Regions from separate parts of the Homo sapiens genome. Here region 2 is linked to region 1. The links are contacts of gene promoters, found by promoter capture Hi-C in human tissues and cell types (Jung and others, 2019). All regions are on one chromosome and are shown on one strand. Each heading gives the region's core, a stretch centred on a gene start or on the middle of the fragment in contact. The rest is flanking DNA. Distances are from core to core; before and after follow the strand shown. Region 1 holds the start of BCL2A1 (BCL2 related protein A1). Region 2 has its middle 20 kb from the start of ZFAND6.

Region 1 (3,585 bases), core at 495-2,994:
CACACATCGGATAGTTTACCTGAGTTAAAAATGTGAATTAAGTCAGGCTTAAAGCAGAATTTTGTTTTCTATCAGAAATTCTAGAGTAGGTGGAAGGTGAAGACCAAAGAAGGTATTTTCTTTTTCTTTTTCTTTTTTTTTTTTTTGAGATGGAGTCTCGCTCTGTCGCCCAGGCTGGAGTGCAGTGGCACAATCTCAGCTCACTGCAAGCTCCGCCTCCTGGGTTCAAAGGATTCTCCTGCCTCAGCCTCCCAAGTAGCTGGGACTACAGGTGCCCGCCACCATGCCTGGCTAATTTTTTGTATTTTTGGTAGAGATGGGGTTTCACTGTGTTAGCCAGGATGGTCTCGATCTTCTGATCTCGTGATCCGCTCGCCTCAGCCTCCCAAAGTGCTGGGATTACAGGGGTGAGCCACCGTGCCTGGCCCAAAGAGGGTATTTTTTTCTTCCCTCTCGGTATCATCCTTACTCAATTACAAATGATCAAGGGCGGTACTGCCAGAGTCACCTCGAGAGGCCCTGTTCTCTGCCACCCAGGCTGTTTTGTAGTCTCCATTCCAAATTGTCGTTACTCCGGTTTACCCCGTGGATGGCGTTTAAGACTTTTCTTAAATTTGAAATTCACAGAACCATTTTAAAGTGAACAATTCAGTGGCATTTAGTACCTTCGCAGTGTTGTGCAACTTCCACCTCTATCTAGCTGCAAAACATTTTCTTTTCTTTTTTTTTTTGGAGACAGAGTCTCGCTCTGTTGCCCAGACTGGAGTGCAGTGGCGTGATCTTGGCTCACTGCAACTTCTGTCTCCCGGGTTCAAGCAATTCTCCTGCCTCAGCCTCCCGAGTAGCTGGGATTACAGGCACACGCCACCCGCCTGGCTAATTTTTTGTATTTTAGTACAGACGGGGATTTACCATATTGCCCAGGCTGGTCTCAAACTCCTGAGCTCAGGCAATCCGCCCGCCTTGTCCTCCCAAAGTGCTAGGATTACAGGCGTGAGCCAACGCGGCCGGCCTTGTAAAACATTTTCATCACACAAAAGAAAACCTTCTACCCATTAAGCAGTTACTCCTTCCTCTTCTCAGCCCCTGTCAACCACCAATTTGCTTTCTATCCTATGGATTTAACTGTCTGGATATTTCATAGAAATAGAATCACATAATGTATGACCTTTTCTGTTTGGCTTCTTTCTATTAGCCTAATGTTTTTGAGGTTCATTCCTGTTGAAGCATGTATCAGTTCTTCATTCCTTTTTTGGGATGAATAATGTTCCATAATTTATTTATCCTTTCGTCTGTTGATGAACATTTGAGTTGTGTCCACATCTTGGCTATTGTGAATAGTGCTGCCATGTACATTCGTATGTAAGTATTTGAGTATCTGTTGGGTGTATACCTATGAATGGAATTGCTGGGTCTTTTGACAATTCTGTATTTAACTTTTTGAGAAACTGCCAACATTTTCACAGGGGTTGTACCATTTCACATTCCCACCAGCAATCTACAAGGATTCTAATTTCTCCACATCCTGCATTTAAGACTTGCAAAGCTGAATTAATCACAGGATGAGGAAGTGGCTTCTCTGAAACATTTTCCTCTTTCACATTTTAAACTTTCTCTTTCATACATGACATGAAACACAGCCTACGCACGAAAGTGACTAGGAGGAAGGATATTATAAAGTGATGCAAACAGAAATTCCACCAGCCTCCATGTATCATCATGTGTCATAACTCAGTCAAGCTCAGTGAGCATTCTCAGCACATTGCCTCAACAGCTTCAAGGTGAGCCAGCTCAAGACTTTGCTCTCCACCAGGCAGAAGATGACAGACTGTGAATTTGGATATATTTACAGGCTGGCTCAGGACTATCTGCAGTGCGTCCTACAGATACCACAACCTGGATCAGGTCCAAGCAAAACGTCCAGAGTGCTACAAAATGTTGCGTTCTCAGTCCAAAAAGAAGTGGAAAAGAATCTGAAGTCATGCTTGGACAATGTTAATGTTGTGTCCGTAGACACTGCCAGAACACTATTCAACCAAGTGATGGAAAAGGAGTTTGAAGACGGCATCATTAACTGGGGAAGAATTGTAACCATATTTGCATTTGAAGGTATTCTCATCAAGAAACTTCTACGACAGCAAATTGCCCCGGATGTGGATACCTATAAGGAGATTTCATATTTTGTTGCGGAGTTCATAATGAATAACACAGGAGAATGGATAAGGCAAAACGGAGGCTGGGTATGTGTGATGGAAAAATTCTTCATTGTTCTTTCCTGTGAAATAGAAATTGAGAATTTCCTTGCTAGTTAAAACAACAACAAAACACTTTACCTAAGAATACTATTTTCCTTGGGTGGTTTGTTTTAATTTTTAAAATAAAAATATACTTTCTGGCTTATTTCCAATGAATCCTTGAACTTGAACTTTATAGTTGGAAAGCACTTATGTTTTCAGTTTTTATTCTTAACAGTATAAATTACAGTAGTGAGCTTTGGGGATTAATAAAGCACCTCTCTCATGCAGCTTCACAATCAGCTGTGCACACACTCTAATCTAGTACTTAGCTTTTGCTAGGGTTGTCATGACAGTACAGACAGTACAGAAATTTCTACAATCAGCACAGAAAGTTGCTATCAGATGCTGTTATTTTTAGGTATTTATGGGTTGCAAAAGACAGGTGTAAATTTTTGTAAGTTCATCGCTTACAAATTGGTGTTTTTCAGTTTACTAATACATAATAAATAGTAACATATATTAATATATAGCAAATTACATTACATATAATATATAACACATTATTACTAATAATAAATTCCGGGCTGTTAAAGTTTGTTGATTAAAACATAATATACTGTATGACCAGCAAGAACCTTTATTCAAGAATTTTCAAATAAAAATTTACTTTATTATCAGTGCCTAAAAAAGCCAAGACTATGTAGAGGCCTGTGTTGAAACTCATGTTGGTAAAAAGCCTGACACAGCTGGATGTATATGGTTTCCTTTATATTCCAATATACTTAATAATTATTTTTTTAAAGCACTTAAGTGTTCATTGATCCTCTCTCCAACGGCCTTCACCTCTCCCAAGAGGTAACCACTGTTATCAATTATTTTGCATGCAAAACATGCCTACTGAATCTATCCATAGAAAATAAACAATACTTCTTTGTAAAACATTTTTTGTAAAAAAAGTTTTATATAAAATGTATATGTATGCTTATGTATATGTTTTACATAACATATATGTTATACCATATAACACATACCTTTTTTACATATACACATAGATTTTTTATGTATACATATAAATTTTGCATACATATTTTTACATGTGTATATGTAAAAATAGTACATGGTACTAATGCTGCCACTTATTTTTTTACCCAGAATTATTTAAAATAGTATTATTAAGAGTGCTGTGTATATTCTGTTATATGTAAGTGCTGTAGAGTACCTGGCCATTTCTAGCTGATAGCTGTTTAGGTTATTTCGAGTTTGCTGTCACACACAATGCTTCATTGAATATCATTTTACGTAAATCTTCCCTTGTGCGTGTGTGTAGTTTTCTAGGGTGGATGTTGGG
Region 2 (3,879 bases), core at 1,314-3,813, 68 kb before region 1:
AAAGGAGTGCCTTTTTCTAAATCCAGTAAAGGCATTGAATAGGCCGGTGAAGGCTCTGTAGATTTCTACGTGTATGTAAAAGGCAGGTTGCAGAACAATAGGTACTGTGTGAATCCAGTAGATAAATATGTTCATATATGTAAATGCATAGAAGAGAGACTGTTACAGTGGCTATTGCTGGACAGGAATATGGGTGGGGAAAAGAGGAAGGCAAACTGCTCTCTTTTCTTCCTTATAGTTTGAATTCGTTTGTTTGTTTGAGAGAGGGTCTGGCTCTATCCCCTGGGCTGTAGTACAGTGGTGGGATCTCAGCTCACTGCAATCTCTGCCTCCTGGGCTCAGGCAATTCTCCCACTTCAGCCTTCAGAATAGCTGGGAGTACAGGTGCATACTACAATACCCTGCTAGTTTTTTTGTATTTTTAGTAGAGATGGAGTTTCGCCATGTTGCCCAGACTGGTCTCAAACTCCTGGGCTCAGGTGATCGAGGCACCTAAGCCTCCCAAAGTGCTGGGATTACAGGTGTGAGCCACTGCGCCTGGCCTCTTCCTTATAGTTTGAATTTTTTTTAATGTGAATGTATCTACATACTACTTGTGTAATTTAAAAAATAAGTTAAAATCAGAAATAACAAAGAAGTGCCAAAGTGAGGTTTAACAACTATAGCCATTCAGTAAAATACTTCAGTTTATAAAAAGTCTAGAAGTTATCTTTGAAAGTTAAGTGAATAAAGCAGGAGAGAACATTCTATGAATATGCCAATAATATTTTAAGTGAAAAGGCAAGTCACAGAACAGTACTATGTTAAGATCCTATCTGTGTTAAAAATGTAGACACATGTATACCTACAAATGAAATAAATGCCTGTAAAGATAGATACCAAATTGAAAATAGGGGTTATTATCTCTGAGGGATGGTTTTGAGGCTAAGAGAAAGCTTATTTATGAGTGTTTGAATTTTTTCTAATGAAAATATATTAATTTTATAATAAAAATAAATTATAAACAGATACATAAAGTATGTGTTTATATAAACACATGTATTGTGTATATATATGTGTATTTTAAAATATCTATAACTATCTCCTATTTGTAAATATATATACATATTTAAATATATACACACATACACGTATAAATGTAAACACATATATGCCTAGGAAAATAGATGTTTATATTTATATATACACGTGTATATATTTATATATGTATATATATATTTACATATGTGGCATTATAGGTGATGATTACTATTGGCTTTTTTATTCATGTGTTTTTCATATTTTCACCAATTTTATAATCTAGTAAGAATTTTTTTAAAAACGAAAAGGTTATAAAAAAAGGAAAAACCTAATAAAATTGTATAGTATAATCACTAGTGAGTGAAAGTAAGCATAAATTTTGTACATGGAAAAAAAATCTAGGAAAAACTAGAATTAGTGGAAATTTAGATGTTAAAACTTTTTTTTTTCCTCTTTTTATTCCCCCCAAGTCTATGATAATGAATGAATATTAGTTCCGGTGCTAGAAGAAAGTATAATGTAAAAATGTAAATATTTATTAGGTGCACCCAAAGATCATCATTTTAGAGATGGAGAAACTTAGGGGCAAGCAGGGGCATTGGCTGCTAAAGGGGGTGCAGGCTGAGGCAGGTCTCACCTCTGGGTTCTAGAGCTCCTTCCAGCCCCCTTCAAGCTGCCATCACATTTCTGTTCTCGAGTTTGGAGAAAAGGGACACACACCGGTTGGTGCCCGTGCTGGCAGTCTGCTCACATCACACCTAACTGAGGGGTCTCCCCAGGGCCTTGAGCTCCTGGCTGGCTAATTCTACTTAGTGCTAGGGTAACTGAGGTCAGACATCCATGAGGTGGCAAAGTGGGGTGATCAGTTTGTCCCAGTTTGCCTCAGATTTCCCCAGTTTTAGCACCTAAAATCCTGCATTCCAGGAAATCTCTTGGGCCTATAAAAACCAGAACAGGACCAGGCACGGTGGCTCACCCCTGCAATCCCAGTACTTTGGGAGGTCAAGGTGGGTGGATCACCTGAGGTCGGGAGGTGGGGAGTTCGAGACTGGCCTGGCCAACATGGTGAAACCCCGTCTCTATTAAAAATACAAAAATTAGCCGGGCGTGGTAGTAAATGCCTGTCGTCCCAGCTACTCGGGAAGCTGAGGCAGGAGAATCTCTTGAACCCAGGAGGCGGAGGTTTCAGTGAGCCAAGATCGTGCCACTGCACTACAGCCTGGGTGACAAAGCAAGACTCCATCTCAAACAACAACAACAACAACAACAGCAACACAGAACAGTTGGTCACCCTAGAGTGAATTGTGATTCCCAAGAACACCAAACTGGGAACCAGGAGATCACCATTCTCACCCGAACTCCCTGTGTGGTATTACCTCACCTCTCTGGGCCTCAGTTTGCTTATCAGTGAAACAGTATCATCTCCCCGGACTCTACCTTAAAGGGTCGTTTCAAATAAAAAAAAAATGTGAAATTACATTGTAAACTAAGGACTGTGTCCATAGGGGAGGGTCAGGGTGGACTTTGCCCTTGGGGGAGTCAGCTAGAGCCATGGAGGCATGACCACAGCGTTCTGATCACAGCTTACTCTCCATTCTCCTTGACATCCAAAGTCACGCCCACCTAAAATCCTCTCATGAGGTTAATCCAACAAGTCTTCAGCTCTGGTGAGGTGGGACTCCGAGGGTTCTACAAACTTTTTCTGTAAAAGCCTTTGATGGTTAATTTTTTTTTTTTTTTTTTTTGAGACAGAGTCTTGCTCTGTCGCGGCTGGAGTGCAGTGATGCAATCTCAGCTCACCGCAACCTCCACCTTCTGGATTCAAGTGATTCTTCTGCCTCAGCCTCCCAAGTAGCTGGGATTACAGGCGCGCACCATCACGCCCAGCTAATTTTTGTATTTTTAGTAGAGACAGGGTTTCACCATATTGGCCAGGCTGGTCTTGAACTCCTGACCTCGCAGTCCATCCACCTTGGCCTCCCAAAGTGCTGGGATTACAGGTGTGAGCCACGGCGCCTGGCTTTGATGGTTAATTTTATGTGTCAATTTGGCTGGACCACAGTACCCAGATATTTGGTCAGACATTATTCTGGATGTTTCTGTGAGAGTACATTTGGATGAGATTAACATTGAAATCAGTGGATTTTGAGTAAAGTTGGTTGCCCTCCACAATGTTGGTAGGCCTCATCCAATCAGTCAAAGGACTGAATGGTACAAAGACTGACCTCCCCTGAGGAAGAAGGCATCCTGCAGCAGACAGCCTTCAGACTCAAACTGCAACCTTGGCTCTTCCCAGGTCTTCAGCCTGCCAGTCCACCCTGCAGACTTTGGACTTGCCAGCCTCCATAATCACATGAGCCAGTTCCTTAAATCTCTCTCTCTTTTTTTCTTCCTTTCTCTCTATCCTATTGGTTCTGTTTCTATGGAAAACCCTGACTAGTACAAAATCCAAATAGAACATGTTTTAGGCTCTGCAGGTCATGTGATCTCTGTCACATCTACTCGACTCTCCCATTTTAGCTCAGAAGCAGCCATAAACAATACACAAGGTATTGTCCACCTTGGCCTGCTGACATTTGAGGCTGGATCATTGTTTGTTATGAAGGCTGTCCTGTGAACTGTAGGATATTTAGCAGCATCCTAGTCTCTACCCAGTTGATACCAGTAGCACTCCTCAGTTGTCACAACCCAAAATGTAACTGGGGGGAGGGAGGTCTGATATAAATAAATGAGCATGACTGTATTCTATTGAAACGTGATTTACAAAATAGGTGCTATTTTGTAGATACATTATTGTAAAACATTATTTACAAAATGGTTGGTTTGGCCCATGGGCCATAGTTTGCTCTAGGCAGCAGG

The links. Contacts are between HindIII fragments. The study calls those that stand out against the background at their distance.
Region 2: a contact is called between a fragment that was not itself captured here and the fragment with the promoter of BCL2A1 in region 1, in 4 of the 25 tissues and cell types used here (dorsolateral prefrontal cortex, liver, lymphoblastoid cells and 1 more).

What each region holds. Positions count from the first base shown.
Region 1 is chr15:79,969,355-79,972,939 of GRCh38, reverse strand. BCL2A1 (BCL2 related protein A1) reads left to right here and starts at 1,744. Exons shown (of 2, transcript NM_004049.4): 1 at 1,744-2,240. The coding sequence starts at 1,821. RefSeq lists an enhancer at 1,121-2,320. The HindIII fragment of the contact is 21,858 bases long and covers 1-3,585 here.
Region 2 is chr15:80,037,708-80,041,586 of GRCh38, reverse strand. No RefSeq gene overlaps it. Among named protein-coding and RNA genes, the nearest start is that of ZFAND6, 20 kb to the left of the region's middle. RefSeq lists an enhancer at 1,379-1,878. The HindIII fragment of the contact is 5,767 bases long and covers 1-3,879 here.